Regions from separate parts of the Homo sapiens genome. Here regions 1, 2, 3, 5 and 6 are each linked to region 4. Evidence: promoter capture Hi-C in human tissues and cell types (Jung and others, 2019). All regions are on one chromosome and are shown on one strand. Each heading gives the region's core, a stretch centred on a gene start or on the middle of the fragment in contact. The rest is flanking DNA. Distances are from core to core; before and after follow the strand shown.

Region 1 (2,921 bases), core at 89-2,588, 310 kb before region 4:
AGCATAATTTGGCCACACTGTGAAATAAAAACCCTCAGCATGTTTCCTCAATTCATTGAAATAGATAAGTATGCATTAGCAGTTAACACATCTGTGCACACCTGGAATGCTATGAATTTTAATTAGGGATATCAGGTCTAGAGGATTTATGAAGGCAAGTGATTAAACAGGTAAATATAGATTTTAGTCATTCAACATTTCAGGACTACAAATTTTGTTTTTGTGTAAAACAGAAACCCCTTGGGAACTTTAGTTCTACTCATTACTTGTTTGCAAAAAAAGATTTTTATAAAAAGATATTTTGCAAATTTGCACAAATGAGATTTTATCCTTTGGGAGTAACAAAAACCAAGGTGAATGATACTGAGGGAATTAAATTACAAAATGAGATAGCATAGGTTTGGGGTATACTGAACTATTGCATTAAGAGTTGTTTGAATGCAGAAACAACTTAATGTCTTTCTGGAGTAAAACAAATTCAAATTTCAGGGTTTTTGGAAAAATGCTAACGCAAACATATTATAAAAGATTTTTCTATCATTAGACGGAAGCAGCTAAGATAATGACTGTGCTTCTGGGTAGGCCTACAGTACTTTTGGAAGAATTGATCATGTTCTCCATTGTAAGTTCTGCTCTGGGTGCTATAACTATATCAGATGTGGGGGTGTGATGTTACCTTTAGTGCAGAGAGATAAAGGGATAACATTATCAAATGAAAGGAAACCATTGAAAAGAGGCCGAAGAACACCTCTAAAGTTTGCAATAATGTAAAGTGTTGATACAATATGGTGTATAAGGTGGGACTATGATGCTAGGAAATGATTCCTTGAAACTTTTATAAAAAATATGGCTCATAGCCTATTGCTGTAATTAGTGATCATTTTGTCTAAAGCAATAGCCAGCTAGGTTGGTGAATGACACTGGGAAATTATAAATGGCAACATTAATTTTCTTTTTTTTCTCACCACATATCTGTCTAGGTTTATTTCTAGAGGTTTTATTTTGTTTTATTTTTTGGTCTTCAGGAAAGCTTTATTATGATTTATTTGTTTCTTTTCTTTATTTTTTATTTCAATAGGTTTTGGGGAAACAGGTGGTGTTTAGTTACACAAATAAGTTCTTTAGTGGTGATTTCTGAGATTCCGGTGCACCCATCACCCAAGCAGTGTACACTGTACCCAGTGTGTAGTCTTTTATCCCTCACCTCCTCCCATCCTCTCCCCCGAGTCCCCAAAATTTATTGTATCATTCTTATGCCTTGTGTCCTCATAGCTTAGCTCCCACTTATCAGTGAGAACACATGGTGCTTGGTTTTCCATTTCTGAGTTACTTCACTTATAATAATGGTCTCCAATTCCATCCAAGTTGCTGGGAGTGCCATTATTTCATTCCTTTTTATGGCTGAGTAGTAGTCCATGGTATATATAGACCACATTTTCTTTATCCATTTGTTGATTGATGGGCATTTGGGCTGGTTCCATAGTTTTGCAACTACAAATTGTGCTGCTATAAACATGTGTGTGCAAGTATTAATATCTTTTTCATATAATAACTTCTTTTCCTCTGGGTAGATCCCCAGTAGTGGAATTGCTGGATCAAATAGTAGATCTACTTTTAGTTCTTTAAGGAATCCCCACACTGTTTTCCATAGTGGTTGTACCAGTTTACATTCCCACCAACAGTGTAAAAGTGTTCCCATTTCACCACATCCATGCCAACATCTATTATTTTTTGATTTTTTTGATTATGACCATTCTTGCAGAATTAAGGTGGTATTGCATTGTGATTTTGATTTCCATTTCCCTGATCATTAGTGATGTTGAGCATTTTTTACATGTTTGTTGGCCATTTTTATATCTTCTTTTTAGAATTGTCTATTCATGTCCTCAGCACACTTTTTGATGGGATTGTTTTTTTCTTGCTAATTTGTTTGAGTTCTTTGTAGATTCTGGATATTAGTCCTTTGTCAGATGTACAGGTTGTGAAGATTTTCTCCCACTCTGTGGGTTGTCTGTTAACTCTGCTGATTATTTCTTTTGCTGTGCAGAAACTTTAGTTTAAGTCCCATCTATTTATCTTTGTTTTTGTTGTAATAAACGGCAACATTATACTTTCAAGTAGTGTCTTGGTGGTATCTCCAGTTTGGGACTTTTTAATCCATTAGGTTGCCAACACTCATTTCTGTTGGGAACATATTTACTGCCCATCTTTTGTCATCTCATAATAGTTAGGGTTGAAAGGGTACTTAGAAACCCAAACACTACTGGAGAAAGGCTTTGAGAAGGAAACTACCTGGGTTGGGTTAAGTTAAATTAGATAAGAATACATGAAATGAGCAAAGAAGATATATGTGAACTAACATGGAAATCTCTAACAGATATATTGAAATTAAATAAAGAAAATTTCAGAAAAAATGTATACCTGTATTAAAGGGAGAGACTAGGGGATCATGTGGAGAAACTTAGCCAATTTTTTTGTGTGGTATATTCCTACAACATTTGATACAGTTTTGAAACCTATTCCATATTTTATAATGGATGACTTATGAAATAAACAGCCTTATCAGGCTACTTTAATTTGGATAACCACAAACTGACTGACCAGATGAAACTAGTGCAATAGTTTGAATTAGTACATTCTCAGGCTGTGTGATTGTGTGCCTATTACTGATCTTACAGTCATCGCTTTGGGAATCAAAAATGAATTACAGAAATTAAAATACTGATGTGCCTTTCTAGCTGTTAAAAACTGAATCTTTCAAAAGTATGGTTCATCTTTGTTACAGTAAAAAGGGTTTTAAAATATTTCTTATTGATGTGTCATGAATCTGTCAAATTTGGTAAGTACAAAAATTGATTTTATTTCTTTATTCTCAGTGGTGAAATTTTCCTTTTATTATTTCAAACCAAGAAAATAATGTT
Region 2 (3,236 bases), core at 273-2,772, 380 kb before region 4:
TTTTAGGGGATTTATCTCTTTCTACATTGTTGTGTAGTTTATTTTTGCATTTGTCTGTTTTTTCCTGCTAGATGTGAACATCTTATATCGTCCATAACCCCTAGCATAAAACCTTCTATATCATAAGTCCTTGAAACCATTTATTGAGACTGAAGTCAATCTTATACTCTAATGTTTGCTATGAAACACTTCTATTCTTGGGGTGTCAGGGTTAAGTACAATCACTCATGGTTCTGGTAGCAGGTATTACTAGGGAAATTGAAAAAAGTTTATATTCTTAGATAGGAAAATGTGTTCCTCCAGAAAGAACAAAAGCCTTTGCACTGGGCTCTAAATCCATTAGGTTGGTGCAAAAGTAATTGCAGTTTTTGCCATTACTTTTAATACTACTAAATGCAATACTAAATACTATATGAATCTTCCAGTAAGTATATTTTCACATTGACATTGACCAAATAGGACATAGTCATGGGATAGTGTCCTGGGGAATACGAGTTCTGCTCTAAATGAAGAGGTGTGGAAACTGGGAATGTGCAGCCTGAGTGAAGAAAGCTCTTGCTGCCTTCGAATATTTGAAGAGTTGTCATGGTGATGATGAGGGTTAGACTCTGAAATGCTTCAGAGAACAAAACTAGGACCAGTGGGTGGAAATTACCAGGAGGTGGATTTCAGGCCAATATTAGAACATTCTAATAACTGCCACTGTTTGTCAGTAAAAGAAGCTGCCTGAAGCAGTCGTAAGCTCCCCAAGTGGAGTGTTTCAAATACGGGCTGGGTAATCTCCTGGCTATAGGAGTATTGGGTGGGAGACTGGGTGTCATGACCTCCAAGTCCCCTTTCACCCTAAAGATTAATTGATTTTATGGAAATCTGTATTTGGGCAAAGGGTGGTAGGATAAATATTCTGTTTTGTACTGCATTTTGAATGCTGACTGAGTTAGGGATGAAAAAATGTCAATGGCTTATTTCGTTGCCTTTCCCAAAGAAAGGGATATAAGCTTTCATTTAGGGATTTTAGAAAATCCATTTAGTTTGATTTTCTTGTCTCATGGCTTAAGTGCAAGAAGGTACTAGCTGGGTTTTCTACTTAGTGACAGGCTAAACTGTGTTTGCACAAATTGCTTCCTGTGAATCTTGTTTTTGGGTCCATATTTATAGGCTGTACTTGCTACCAGGGCTGTATTTCTATGTCTTGAAAATTGGTGCAAAGATGTTTTTGCTCTGCATGTTTGGAGAGGGAAGAGCTGTTTGTAATCTTGTACTAACCTGAATTTCTTGAGTAACTTGAACAGTTTTCACATTCTTTCTACACTCCTGTGGATAATGACATTGCTAGCTTGCTCCCATGCTGTTAATGTATTCATGTGTATTCTTAGGACAAAAAAAGTACACGGTGTGTTGTTGGCTGAAGGTTTCCCTTCATTTCCTCCTTCTCTGTCTCTCCTAGACAGAACAAAGTCTTTCCTGTTGTTGATCAAGACCATGTTTGCATTTTCAAAGTAATTAGCAGTAGATTCTTTTGCATTTTTTCTTTTTCTTTCTTTCTTTCTTTTTCTTTTTTTAGGAGTGGAGGTTTAATAGGAAGGAGAGAAGAGAATAAGAAACAGCTCTCTCCATAGAGAGAGGGATCTTCAAGTGGAAAATCTCTTTTGCGTTTTTTTCTATACTGCTTGCTGCTTATAGTTATACCATCAGGTGCATAGCTAGGATTTATACCCAGTATTTACTAAATCATTTCTATCAAAGATAGATTTCTATCAAAGTTATAGTGGATGTCTCCACTATAACTTTACCACTGGATGATCTGTAGTAGACATCTTCTCATTTACCAGGTTACTAGAAAAGCAGAAGCACTTCCTAATACTGATCTGAAGGAAACAATGTCCCATCTTTATCCCCAGCTCTGCACTATCTCTAGGCTCCCTCTTGAGTCGAATTCAAAGCAGTAAGATTATTCTGGAAATTCTGCTTGTCTCAGGGCAATTGGAAATGGGAATTGGCTTTAATTACATTTAAACACAAAATAAACAGTCCTTTGGTGGAGGGGCATTCTTCTTGCTTTTCACCTGCAACAATCTCAGCAGAGCAGAGTAATTGCCTTCACCATGCTTATTTCAGGAAAAACTTTCTCACTACCAGCAGTTCTGACTTAATTAAACTGAAGGAGTTAATTTGAGCTACAATTTGAGCTATTATGTATGTATAATTAATAATGTTTATATTAATTCATGTTAGATTTAGAAGTTTTTTCCTTAAAATAATTATTGAATTTTATAAAAAAGAGCTTCTGAACAAACAAAAACACCTCAGACTCTAACCTAGAAGGGGAGGGTATAGGGGGAAGGAGATCCTTTTGTAATTATTCTCATATTACAGCTCTCAGTCCTCAACTCTAGTTGGGAGTATTTGTCCTTTTCCCAAATTCACTAATAACAGAAATAGGAAGAAAGGAGGTTTTGTTGTTGTTGTTGTTGTTGTTATTGGTTTTCTTTTTCTTTTTTTCCTCTATCTTTGGCTTAAATCAAATACAGACTGAATTTTCTAGTTCTTTCTTAGGATCAGGGGCAGCCAGATAACACATCTTTTCTCTCTGCTCTTACATTTTGTGCTGTTCTCAGTGTTTTATTTTGGGCCTGATTGGTTTCACATACCACCAGATAGGCAGAGAGAGAAATAATATCCCCAGGAGGTCTCCAAGCTATTAGGATATTACTATAGAATGTCAGCACTGACATTCTTACATATCAAAATTTGTTCATGTAGAAAATGAACTGTATAAAGCCATCCTGATTGCAGTATTTCCCCTCCTCCAACTGACCGAGCCATTGTCTGGTTTACATTTTGATGCCATTCTCATAACTATTTATTCCACTAAATAAAATTTGGTAGGTTTTCTGTTGTTTTTTTCTCTTTTTTTAACATCTGCCATCTGCAGTATATATAGTTGCAACCTGCATGCATCCTACTTAGTTTCTGCAATGTAATCAGAGATGCCGTCTTCTTTTATCGGTATTGGATCATGTTACCTGAACTTTACTTAGATTTTTGTGAGCAAAGTTGGAAGCTCATCATCACCAACTTTAATCCTAAGAGGTCAGGCTTGCTGCCACATGGTGGCAGGGGGGGCTTTTGGGAGGACATCTTTAGAGTAAAATCCCTAAGGCTTTAGGAACTCTTGGTATAGATATTAAGCTCAGATTTATATGCTTGCTAAATAACCCTAGCTTTGCAAGTGT
Region 3 (3,024 bases), core at 124-2,623, 460 kb before region 4:
GTTCCCTCATCACCCAGCTCTGGCTCTGACACCCCACACAGGGTCCTTTCTGACACGTATACCTTCCTCACCCTCCTTGGGCTCTGATACCTGCTGTGGACCACTGTGCCTCCTGTCCCCGTCCTGGTCTGGACACCTATGTTATTCTGTCCTACCTAATGGCTTTAGAACTAAGTTTCTAGGGAAGGGAAAGGAATGGAAGGGGAAGTGGAAGATGATGGGTCTGGAATCACCTTAAACCCATGCAAACTATAGAATGGTATCTACAGTATTGTTAAGCATGTGAAAGTACCACATAACCCAGAAAGAATATATAGGGTTTTTTTTGGTTGAACTCATTGTACATGTTACTATGTTCTTTCTGTCACATATTCATAATCAATGCTAGCTTCTGCGTTTGACTCTCAAATGAGAAGAAATATACACCTGCTGGACAATGTCAGTTACCTAGAAAGTACCCAAGAAGGGAAGTGCATTAGGAGTTGTCCCATCTTGTGTCTGTGCTGGAAACCACTCTGGTTTTTTTAAGCAAGCAGTAACTCAAAGGACAAGTATATACCATATGTCTGGGACCTGTGGACACTGCTATCTTGGATTTGTAGAATTCTTTCTTAAATATTGTATTCTGGGGAATGCTCATATAATGCAAACAGCCTAGTTATACATGACAGCTACAGAAGAAACAAAAATTAATAATAGAAAGATCAGAAACGAATGCTATTTACTGTTCACAATTTTTCAAAACATGGCATTTTGCCTATACATTTATTAATGTGCTTGTGTGGATAAACGTGTATGTAGTGGAATCCATTACAAGGTAATGTTACCTGACAGTCACACTGGGCCTTATTGAATCAGAAATTTTACTGTATTGAATTACAATTTAGGGAGCATATTTTGACAGCAGTATTCTAAATCCATCTATTTTAATGGTATCTCACTGTAACAGTATAAACACCATCAAGTATTAGTCTTTAACCTCTATAGGAATTTGACATCTGAACAGATTAACACTAATCTTTGCTTGTGTGATTGTTCATTTTAGTATTTTTGTGGGAAAATATACAGATATGATATTGTATATAAAAATAGCACAACCAGATATCTATACAGAAATTAGCATAAATGAATCCTAATTCTAGAATTCACTTTCGTGAAAGAAATGAGACTCATTTCTTTCCAAAAGGACAAGTTAGATAAGAAATCCAATTAGTTTCCCAAATCCTCCTTTCATTCTCAAATCATTTCATCAGAGCTGCTGCCTTGGTACCACTGCTTGGATTGGGTAGGAGAGCCAAATGTCTAGCAGGCGTACTCAGCCATTCCTAACACTAAGACATGAAATATAATCTGTATTTATAATGCAGTTTGAAAACGTTTGCTTAGAGTGTGTTTTTCCCCACAAGGACAATTGCATTTAAGTTAAAAACAGCTGATTCTGAAGGGATGTCTTTTTGTTTATTTACTGTATCTTACTGAAAAAAAAAATTTCTGATTTTCTTGAGTTCTGTTTATATTCAAGGTAGTTGGAAAAATAACTATTTACTTCCATTACTTCTATTTCTGCTATGGAAACTGTTCTTTTTCTGTTTTTCATTATGCTTTTTACTTCCTTTTGTCCTTCTCCTTCCTGCCCTGTCTGGGTTTTGTTAGTTCATATCCTCTTTGGATATGGTCAGAGTCATCAGTGATGGAAAATGTGACTGCCAGAAAGTCTACCTTCATCTTTAAAACTAAATAACTTGACAGCCTTTTAATTTACACTGTTGTCAGAGATGGCATGGAACATATAGGCTTTGTTACTGATTTCTGACATTTAACTCATTGAACAGTGTGGCAAATGAAATCCAGGAACTTCATATTGGTAAAAAGACATATTAATTTTTTAATAACACATGTCTTTTAATGTTTTTCTTTTAAGGAACTGTGACTATGATCTTCTAGAAATGAATATTTTTGAGAGCTATAAGAATGTGTGTCTAGTCCTTGTGACAGACGACTTGTAGACAATTGACCAGTTAGAAAAAGCCTAGAAGCTATGTTATCTATAAATGCAACCTTCAAATTCCAATATTTATGAACAGGTCTCTCACACTTTACCATGACAAATGATGTTACAGGAGCTAATTAAAAATGACCAACTTTTAAAATAACTTTCATGTCTACAATTCTTTAGACCCTATGACTCAGGAATCACATTTCCCTTACATGGTGTTTGGTAAACTTCAATGTGTGTGCTGTAGTTGATATCCAGGATTAGCTTGTTTCTTTTAAATTGTCTAGGGATGTGTCCAAAAGAACATTTAAAAATGTGCCTTGTGATACATAAACAGTTTAAAGGTCAATGGAAATTTAAAAATCCAAACATCCAATAGAAAGTATAATGAAATAGCAAATCAGAATTAATTTTCTCTTATTTTTCATCCACATTTACTTTGGAACATAAACCTACTTTCTAGGTTAATAGATACTTACAAGCTAATATATGTTTGATGTTAACTGTTAAATGTATGATCATTTAAACTTTTTAAAAATCCTTTAAAAATTTTTTATAAACAAAGCTTTCTTTTTAGAAATCACATCCTTTTCAATAAAAATCATTTTTATTTCTTTTCTTTTTTTTTTTTTTCTTGAGACATGATCTTGGCTCACTGCAGCCTTGCCTTCCCAGGCTCAAGCCATCCTCCCACCTCAGCCTCCCAAGCAGTTGAGACTGCAGGCATGTCCCACCATGCCCAGCTAATTTTGTTTATTTTTTGTAGAGATGAGGTCTCTACTCACTGTGTTTCCTGGGCTGGTCTCCAACTTCTGGGCTCAAGCACTCTTCCTGCCTCAGCCTCCCAATATGCTGGGGCTACAGGTGTGAGCCACCATGCCTGGCCGATAAGCAGCATTTAATATATATAAATATATATAAATATAATATATGTAATTAATATATTAATAGAATATAACCTGTTCACAGAAGGCTGAATGATAATATAGCTCAGTTATGGCTACCATTTATTGAACATTTATGACACA
Region 4 (3,414 bases), core at 857-3,356:
GCCGGTCTTTGCCCTGCACTACCTCTGTTTCCTTGAGCCAGGTCACCATGTCTGCCATGTGGCAGTCGCAGACCCAGGGATTGTTGTCCAGGAAAACCCTAATGTGGGGTAGACCTTGCAACTCAGCCAGGGTGCCATTGTGAAGGACCTTGAGGGCATTGTCCTCCAGGTGGAGGCTTTCTAGATGTGTCAGGTTGCGGAAGGACACGTAGGTCAGGCTCACCAGCGAATTATTACTTAAGTCCAGGTGCCTGAGGCTGGGCAGTTGGGCCAGCACATCCCGCGGCAGGTAAAGGAAGTGGTTGCTGGCCAGCTCCAAGCGGCGGAGCCCCTGCAGTGCACGGCCCGCCAGCAGGGCCGCCACCACCATGCCCTCGAAGCTCCGGTTCTGCCGCTCATCTTCAGGGGGCACGATGTGGTTCAGGATCAGTTCCACAAGGGGACTGGGGGCCGAGACGCTGGCATTGCTGCCCGAGAAAGCGAAGGGACTGAGGTCGGCCAGTGGGTTGTGGCTGAGGTCGAGCTGGCGCAGGCTGGGCAGATGCTCGAAGGCGCCCGCGCGCACCTCGTCCAGGCGGCTGCCGCTGAGGTTGAGCGCGGCCAGCTCCGCCAGCGGCGGCCGGCGGGCGAAGGCGCCGGCAGGGAGCACGGCCAGCTGGTTGCCGGTAAGGAAGAGGTTGCGCACGTAGGCGGGCAGGTCCGTGGGCACCTCGGTCAGATTGCGGTTAACGCACTTGACTGTGCGCGCTGCCTCGGAGCACTCGCACAGCGCGGGGCACTGGTCCGGCAGCGGGGGCTGGGCGGACACGGCGGAAGCCAGGAACGGCGCCGAGGAGGAGAAGGAGGATGCCGAGGAGGTGGGAGAAGACGAGGAGACCCAGCCCAGGAGTACCAGCGCTAGTCGCGCCAGCCGCAGACGCCCGTCCCCGGCGGCGGGGCCCCGGGAGCACCCCCCAGGCATCGCGGCTCGCGTTTCCCCGGAGCTGGGCTGGGACGGCGCCCGCTCCGAAGGCTCGGGAGGCTGGGCCCGGAGGGCGCGAGCCGGCGGAAGCGTCTGGAAAAAAAAAACTTTCCTCTCGTGGAACCGAGGGAGTGGCGCCGCAGCCGGAACTTGGCTAACCCCCTCGCCACCGGGCGCTTCCCTCAGGGGCCGATTCCCCCGCCCCTTCCCTCCAGAAAGTACGCACGGCGGGTCGGGACGCTCCGCTCCGCGCTCCTGCTCCCGCTCCTCTTCCTGCCGCCGCCCTGGTGCCACCTCTTCGCCTCTTGTTGGCGCCCCTCGCTGGATCCTCTGAGGGACCTGGGACAAGCAGGAGAGAGGCGTGAACAGCGGTGGCTGCCGCGGCTTCCGGAGTGCAAAAACCGGCCTTTTCGAGTCTAGTCGTCTCCAGTCTGTCCCAGAGACCTCCTTCCAAAAGCCCGCCCCGGCCTCGCCTCCCCAACCCCTCCGGTCACTTTTACTCCGGAGGGGGACGCGCATCCGACACCCAGACCGCAAAGTCTTCCTTCTTCCCTGGCCCACACTAAATAAACCCGACCGGCCTCCCGCCCTCCGCCTTTCCCGAGGAGACTCGTCTCCCGCGTCTAACTTACCGCTTAATCCCCAATTCCTTCCCTACCAAACTTCTCCCTCTCCCGTTCCTTCCTGCACCGCCTCGGCGGAAGGTCGGCCTCCGGGTGTCTCCGCCCCCGCCCAGACCTCTCCACCAGGTCCCGGTTAGGATGCGAGGGAAGTTTCAGGTTACAGGACTTTTTGATCTCTTTTTGTACCTTCTCGCATTAGCAGGAAGTGGAGCTACAACTGTCGCCCCCCAGCCCGCGCCCCGCCAGCCCCTCGGATCTCAAAGGGGTTCAAGTCATCTCCAAAGAGGAGGGGAGAGTCTGGGAACAAAGCAGCAGTGGGACTCGGGGTACAGTGGCAACCCGAACCAACCCTACTCTCCACCCGAGGATGGGGAGGGGCCCCAACGACGCCTCCCGGGTCTCTCCCAGGCCGCGGGCTCCCACTGCTCACCTCCGCGTCCGCCGCCTCCAGAACCAACTCTGAGTTCCACCAGAGTAGCGACGACTTCCCGGCTCCGCGTTGCGGGCGCCGACTCTCTTCGCACCCCAGCCCCTGGCCCAACCTCCCAACCTCCGCAGCTGGGAAAAACCAACCCGGGGGGCGGGGGAGGGCCAGGACTGTCGGGGAGATTCCCGACGCGCGGCCAACCTCGGCAGCCGTAGGTAGGGGGATTTAAGAAGAGAGACTAGGGGAGCTGGGCTGCGCGCCTCCTCCTGGTGGAAATTAACGAGGAATGTGCCGGAAAAGGTGAGGGAATCCCTTTCTCTCCCCCCTCCCCGACATCCTTGGGTGGTTCCTCATTTTGCATACTGTATTTACCTTGGACTGGAGCAAAACCGCTGGTGAATCTCGTGGAATTCACCCTGATTCAGGCACCTTTGGCAGTGACGAGATAGATTTAGGCATGACAGAGCAGCGCGAAGCAGCAGCAGAAAGAAATGAGCTGAAAATCTACTGCGGCAGCAGCAAAGGCACGGCAGGTTGTATGGAAGCTTCAGAAGCTCTCCCCATCAAAGTGGTACTTGAGGCCGCAAACTTCAGATTTAGGTGTAATTAATGCCTTCCCGCCTGTCCCCCCCGCCCCCTCACTTCTTGGGTAGTGATGGAACTTGTGAAGAGAGCGCGCCAACTTTAAGAGAGAGAGAGAGAGAAAGAAAAAAAAAAGATTAGTGGAGAGGAGATTCATTCCTGATTCATTAGCTTTTCTCTTACCAAAATTAAAAGCAGATGGAAGAGAAAGGCAGCCAAAGGCATCCCAGAAACAAAAGGCAAATAGCAAAGACTTGAGTCTCCCGGAAAGCGGACCCGCCCCCCTCCCCAGATGTAGCGCGGTGTGTCAAGTCACTTCTGTGGAGAAAGCTCCAAGGATGAGGAGTGGGGATTGCAGGAGCTGACCTGGGAGAGAAGTTTGGTTTCAAAGTCGATTGTCCCAGGGGGCATCTGGCAGATGGTGATGGAGAGGATGGGGTTGGGGAGAGGGACAAATTGAATGGTTGGTTACCGGAAGGATCTGTTATTATACCAGACAGGTTTTGGGTTCTGAAAGCCCTATCGTTGCTCTCTGTAACTCCACATCCCCTTTGTCCCAATTAAATAATTTCCCCGAAGGGATAAGAAGGTTCTTCCAGGCTTCTTCATTTTAGAGAGAAAATGGCAATTAGGGAAAACATGGTTCGGAAATTTAAGACCTGGTCGTATTAAAAAAGATCAAATAAGGATCCTGAGGCTTGTGCCTGGGACATGTGCCTTTAGTGTGAAGAAAGACCCCAACTCTCCAACGGACGCCTGATTACTTTTATAGAAAGAGATAGTCTGCAAAGCCGACAGCAAAAATGGCTCAGACAAAAGCT
Region 5 (3,065 bases), core at 232-2,731, 340 kb before region 4:
TCATCCTCAAAACCCTTATTATTATGCTCCAGTGAGAAAATTTTCATGTCTTGCAATGCTGAAACCAGATCAAAATAAAAATTGGATACTTCTTCGATTTCTCTGATTACTTATGATCTTTCCTTGACTCATGCTGGCTGACCATATGCTCCTCTTATCCTTCCTTGGCCCTTCCATTGCCAAGCTGCCCTAAAAGACCCTCAGTTTGTACTTTGCCATTTGAATTATTTTTGCTAAGTGTTTCAAAGATTTTTATGTAGGGCAAGAAAATCTAATCTTTCCTTGAGAATTCTTGCTTTAATTTATTGTGCTTATTATTTTAAAAATATATTTGAATGACCTCAATTTGCTGGGTCTTTGTTCTTGCTTTTACACCTTAGATGAATTTGAATAGTACTTTGCCTTTGAATATAATCTTAGACCAGGGGATAATTTAACTAAGAAGTCAAAATGAATAATATTCATGCTAACATTATAGTACTACTCTCTTCATATGCCTATAGTGCTTTATAAGACTTAAGATTTATTCTTATCTAATATTTAGTAGAATTTTAATTTTCATTTAAACTTATAGGTCATGGCTAATGTCTGTCAATTAATATGCATATATAACCCTAAGTTAGTTAAGTCTGGCCATACTTATACACTTATATGTTTCTTATTAACCAATGATTTCTGAATTGTCATTAGACATTGTTCCTGTATCAAAATGACATTCTTGAGTCTTCCAAAGTTTGTGTTTATCTTCATTTCCAAATATTACTTTTTAGAAAGCATTCTTTTGATATAATATCTATTTCTGTTGGGCCTGAAGCCATCTATTTGCTTTTTAGCAGTTGCCTTGGTTAAACCATTCCACTGCTTTAGATCTCTATTTGAAATACTACAGACATTTCCCCTCTGTCTGTCACTTAAAAGCATTGAATACATACTCAGAAACTGAAAGGATAAATTAGGCTGCACAAATTATAATGGACAGAAAAGGAACAGGACCCAACAATACTATCTCACAAAGCAATTGAAACTTATTGGACATATGCACAAATTAAGTAAGCTTGATTAAGCAACATGCTCTTGTTTCTTTTTCTTTAAAGAAAAAAGAGGCATAGTAACCTCAGGAGATGAGCCCATGATATTGAGATTGGCTAACGTCACTACATGCCTTTTACCCAAAGAAGTAGAAGCAAAGTTTGCATGATATCCTAGGAAATCCTCGCTACATCTTAAAACATATTTTTAATATTGTGGTAGTTAGAGCTGTGTTTTCCTCATTGAGTCTCTTCCACATAGCAATAGTTCTCAGTCCTTTCAATCACATAGGAAGCTCCTAAGAAATTTCAATACTCATGTTCCACCCCAGGCTAATCAGCATTTCCCCCATGTAATTCTAACGTGCTATCCGGAGTGGGAACCACTGACTTAGGGGTTGAATTCAATATCCATTCATTTCTAAGGATAACAGGATAATACAACTTATAAGGCATCTGGTGGGTTTCTTTATCTAGCCTGGTGGCTTGCCTAAGGAATTCAAAATTTTATGTAGAAATGGTTCTTATTAATTGGACCTCCTGAAATATTAATGATCTCCTAAGGAAGGTTTCTGCTAGTAACATAAATACAGCTCATAACTTTATTTTTTTTTTTGCATCTTGTTTGGTGAATTCAGATTCACACCTTTGACCATTCACCCATACAGTAGAAAATGACTGGCTAAAGAAAATTAAAGTGATGAGTTCTGTTAACAGCTGATGTACATCCTGACAGTTTCTTTAAGCTGCTCTGGAGGCTGCTGTGTTCTGTCATGGGAGGTTTTCAGCCAAAGTAGTTAATTAAGGCTCATTAGAATAGTCAAAATTGATTGTCTGTTTTGCTTCCATCTCACTGTCTTGCATCTCCATTAGTCTTATAGTCATAGCCTTGGCTGCTGGTCTCAGTTTTGTTTGAGTCTGGCCTGCTTCCTACATAGTTCTGTCAATTTCACCAATGCCAGTTTCACCTCTGCCATCCTCTCTAGGCATTCTCATCTGGCACCTTGGCGCCCTCACTCATTTTGCACTCTTGTTTCCCAAACTTGCCATTCTCGCTCCTGATTCTTACTTGCCAAAATCTTCCTTATCTACCTTGACACTCATCTGTTCTATGCCCTCCACTCTCAAGCCCATGTTCTGTATCTATTTCCTTTTTGACCCTTCTTGCTTCTGTTAGCCTCCATTCACTCTGTAGCACAATGATGAATTCCTACCAAATTATGTGAAAAAAAGAGTTTCCTTTCATAAAAGTGATTTGAATCAAGCTTCTGTTTTTGCTATTGCTCTGAAGGCTTTTGATATCTATGCCTGCCTACATCTTGGCAAAAGAGCCCATTGGCAGACAAATAGAAAATTCTCTAATGCACAAAATTACACATACTCATAGAACACAGGGGCAGCAGGGAGCAATCAGCCTGCAAAATACGACCTGCAATTACAAATAATAATGACATATGAGAGTGTTTAATTTTTCATGTCTTATAAAATACAACAAGGAAAATAAATCTGAAGCTGAAGTCTCAGGTCTGGGAGGAGTTATGTCAAGCTTAATAAGCATCAGTCTTTGGATAAGTGAGGTTTCTAATAAAAAGGCCAGATCTGGGAACACTTCTTCAGACTGTTATTTTCTGCCCTTATGAGCAACATGTCTGTCCACTGTAGGACTACATCAAAAGTTCAGAGTTGTGGATAAATTTGAGAAGCCCTGTAGTTCAGAGCTGTGTCAGACATTTTATTGGGAATTTCATGTGCAGTCTGGCTCTCTGAGAGAGCCTTTTTAGCTCCAATATTATATATATATGTGTATATATATATACATATATATGTATTTACATATATACATATATGTATTTATATATATACATATATATGTATTTATATATACATATATATTTATATATATATACATATATATGTATTTATATATATGCATTTTGCATATATATGCATCTATCTATCTATGTATGTATATATTTCCAATTAGGTATAATTGGAGTTATGGTTCTCAGCTGGCTTACAGAAACAAGGGTATTTGAC
Region 6 (3,018 bases), core at 334-2,833, 400 kb before region 4:
AATGACAATATCTGCCATTATATTATACAGAAGAATTTCACTGCCTTAAAAATCCTTTGTGCTCCACCTATTTATTCCCCTCTTTCCTCTACAAAACACCTAGCAAACACTGATCTTTTTTTTACTGTCTCTATTGTTTTGCCTTCTTCATAATGTTATATAGTTGGAACCACACAGGATGTAGCCTTTTCAAATTGGCTTCTTTCTTCTTTCACTTAACAGGGACCTGTGTGGTCCCCATACATTTCAGGTTCCTTCACATCTTTTTGTGGCTTGATAGCTCATTTCTTTTTATCACTGAATGATATTTCATGGTATGGATGCACCACAGTTTATTCACCTACTGAAGGACATTTTGGTTGCTTCTAAGTTTAGGCAGTTATGAAGAAAGCTGCTATAAGCATTTGTATGCAGGTTTTTGTGTTAACGTAAATTTTCATCTCATTTGGGTGAGTATCAAAATTTTAAATACAAGATGTTTTAAAAGTTTCCAGTGCTCTGTTTTTGATGGAGAAATGGTGGGCATGGGAATGGGGTCCTCAGACTGAGTACCACCACTACTACAATTACTTCTGCCCGCTACTATCTATTGAGTAAATGTGTTTATTCATGTAAAATGCTTAGACAAGGGCCTGGAAGTTGCAAGCAGTCAATAAAGGTTGTTGATGTTATCATCATCATCACCATTACTAGGTGACTGGACCTTGGGCTAGGGGATTTTTATACATTATCTCTTCTCCTCAAAAAAATTCACAAATTAGGGCTTCTTTTCCTGTTTTACATGTGGCGCTCTGAAGCTCAGTGAGGGTAACATGTCCAATGTCACACAGCTAGAGTGGGAGAGCCACGATATAACCTAGGCCTTTCTGACTTTTTAAATTTTAAAAATATTTCCATGAGAAGGGGAAGGAGTTTTACCAAAAATGTTAGAGAGAAATAAAAATATTAATAATTAAACAAACAGTGGAATTTTTAAAAAGGCATTATTGAAATACCAAGTAAAAGATTAATTTTATCAACTGTTGTAAAAAAAATCCATTGTGCTATAATTACATGCCATGATCATGGCTCTTATATTGTAAATAGTTCATTATGCATATTTATACAAATTACAAAATGAGTTCTAATTATTCTCATGATGTAAATAAGTAAGTGGCTAAATGCTGCCTAAGAAACATAATGGAATGACTTTTCAAGTATATTATTCTTATTAAAGCAAAGGAATTCCATATTACTGGAATTAAGTTTTGCCTAACCCAAAGCTTAGCATTCCAGGCATAGCCACAGTTTTCTAAGTTGCCTTGCCTGTCTCTACCATTTCATGAAATTAATACATTTCTTTACTATTTTTTCTCACCTCTCACAGTCTGGAGAACTCTGCCTTTAGGATAACATAGTAGCTAAATGCTTAGGCTCTAAAGGCATAAGCGTGTGGATCCAAATCCTATGTCTTCCCTGTATTCCCTGTGTCCTGAAATAGGCTTGTTATTTCTAGGCCTTGATTCTTTCATGTGTTGCAGTGATGATAAAGGTATCTAATTAATGCATTGTTGTAAGGATAAAATAATGCAACATGTAAGTAAACACACACACACACACACACACACACACACACACACACACACACTCTTAGCATGTGATTTGGAACATAGAGAGGAATTAATCCATGTTGCTAATATTATCAAGGCCAGGTTTTCATTGATGTTCTTTAAGTACAGAGTGAAAGATTCAATACCTTAGGAAATGGGAGTGAACATGTATGAAAAACAAGAAATATTCGATATCATTCTTGCAGGATAGACTGTCCACTGAGTAACCTTATTTTTTTCATTTATTCAATACTTTTAAACAAAAATATATTTTCAGATATTTTGCATAGCACTAGGGAGACAAAGAACAATAAGACACATCCCTGCCCTCAGAGAACTCATATTCTGGAGAAGGAAGATAGACATGTAAATATATAAACTCACAAACAATACCATGAGTGCCATAACAGGGCTATAAACACTGGGATGCCAGATATTTTTTGTCTCCAGTGTTAGTAAAGGATGTAAGAGCAATTAAACCTGCTTATAGTCACCTGATAGGGACCTGCAGCTGAATTCCAGTCAATGCAAAATGAAGCTTTAAGGGGGTAGAGCCAATACTCTACCTATATAAACTTTGTGCCTCTGTCTGAAAATCCAGCTGGGAATGTGAATACAGAAGCTGTAACGCTGATGTACATAAAATGGTGTTAAACCTGATCTGGGCATGGCACGACTCTAATTTTGGTTGCTGATATCACTCACCAGAAAAGAGCATGTACCAAAACTACGTTTTATGCCTTTGGGACCTCGCTTCCAACCTTCATTAACCAAAAGAGCCAAATGGCCGGGCGCGGTGGCTCACGCCTGTAATCCCAGCACTTTGGGAGGCCGAGGTGGGCAGATCAGGAGGTCAGGAGTTCGAGACCAGCCTGGCCAATATGGTGAAACACTGTCTGTACTAAAAAATACAAAAATTAGCCAGGGGTGGCGGCAGGTGCCTGTAGTCCCAGCTACTCAGGAGGCTGAGGCAGGAGAATCACTTGAACCCAGGAGGTGGAGGCTGCAGTGAGCAGAGACCACTCCACTGCACTCCAGCCTGGGCGACAAAGGAAAAAAGGAAAATAAAAAGGAGCCAAATGACTCCTGGCTACCTTGAAACACAGCCTAATAACTTCATGTAGAAATGAGAAGATGCTAAAGCCCCACAGGCCAATTGTGAAAGATTCTGATATGGATGCAGACTCTCCTGTGAATTTCCTGGGGGTCATTTTGCTGTCTTACTCACCTTTGCATCCCTCCGGTCCTTGGCAAAGGTCCTGTCACAGAGATGCTCATCAAAAGTTTGTTCAATCTAAGTGAACTGAATTACTAGAATTTAAAGACTGGCAAAATAGTGACTTTTCCTATAAAGAAATTACAAGTAAAACACGAGAGGCTTATGATACAGAAATAGGAATCAACGCCCCTATAATTCAGTATTTTAAAG

What was found. The method cuts DNA at HindIII sites, captures the fragments that hold promoters and counts their contacts. A contact is called where the count stands out against the background at its distance.
Region 1: a contact is called between a fragment that was not itself captured here and the fragment with the promoter of TPBG in region 4, in 1 of the 25 tissues and cell types used here (neural progenitor cells).
Region 2: a fragment that was not itself captured here is called in contact with the fragment with the promoter of TPBG in region 4 in 2 of the 25 tissues and cell types used here (H1 embryonic stem cells and hippocampus).
Region 3: a fragment that was not itself captured here is called in contact with the fragment with the promoter of TPBG in region 4 in 3 of the 25 tissues and cell types used here (heart right ventricle, neural progenitor cells and thymus).
Region 5: a fragment that was not itself captured here is called in contact with the fragment with the promoter of TPBG in region 4 in 4 of the 25 tissues and cell types used here (H1 embryonic stem cells, dorsolateral prefrontal cortex, neural progenitor cells and 1 more).
Region 6: a fragment that was not itself captured here is called in contact with the fragment with the promoter of TPBG in region 4 in 2 of the 25 tissues and cell types used here (dorsolateral prefrontal cortex and hippocampus).

What each region holds. Positions count from the first base shown.
Region 1 is chr6:82,672,365-82,675,285 of GRCh38, reverse strand. All of the region lies in intron 5 of LOC105377876 (a long non-coding RNA gene), which reads left to right. Among named protein-coding and RNA genes, the nearest start is that of TPBG, 310 kb to the right of the region's middle. The HindIII fragment of the contact is 3,199 bases long and covers 1-2,921 here.
Region 2 is chr6:82,737,634-82,740,869 of GRCh38, reverse strand. No RefSeq gene overlaps it. Among named protein-coding and RNA genes, the nearest start is that of UBE3D, 330 kb to the left of the region's middle. The HindIII fragment of the contact is 3,795 bases long and covers 1-3,236 here.
Region 3 is chr6:82,822,214-82,825,237 of GRCh38, reverse strand. All of the region lies in intron 2 of LOC105377877 (a long non-coding RNA gene), which reads left to right. Among named protein-coding and RNA genes, the nearest start is that of UBE3D, 240 kb to the left of the region's middle. The HindIII fragment of the contact is 4,467 bases long and covers 1-3,024 here.
Region 4 is chr6:82,362,509-82,365,922 of GRCh38, reverse strand. It overlaps TPBG (trophoblast glycoprotein), which reads right to left and starts at 2,106. Exons shown (of 2, transcript NM_001376922.1): 1 at 2,015-2,106; 2 at 1-1,300. The coding sequence starts at 961. LOC105377875 (a long non-coding RNA gene) reads left to right here and starts at 2,266. Exons shown (of 3, transcript XR_942738.4): 1 at 2,266-2,311. RefSeq lists enhancers at 1-593, 594-1,496, 1,648-2,159, 2,160-2,673 and a silencer at 546-625. The HindIII fragment of the contact is 6,837 bases long and covers 1,102-3,414 here.
Region 5 is chr6:82,697,863-82,700,927 of GRCh38, reverse strand. No RefSeq gene overlaps it. Among named protein-coding and RNA genes, the nearest start is that of TPBG, 340 kb to the right of the region's middle. The HindIII fragment of the contact is 5,595 bases long and covers 1-3,065 here.
Region 6 is chr6:82,763,570-82,766,587 of GRCh38, reverse strand. No RefSeq gene overlaps it. Among named protein-coding and RNA genes, the nearest start is that of UBE3D, 300 kb to the left of the region's middle. The HindIII fragment of the contact is 3,848 bases long and covers 1-3,018 here.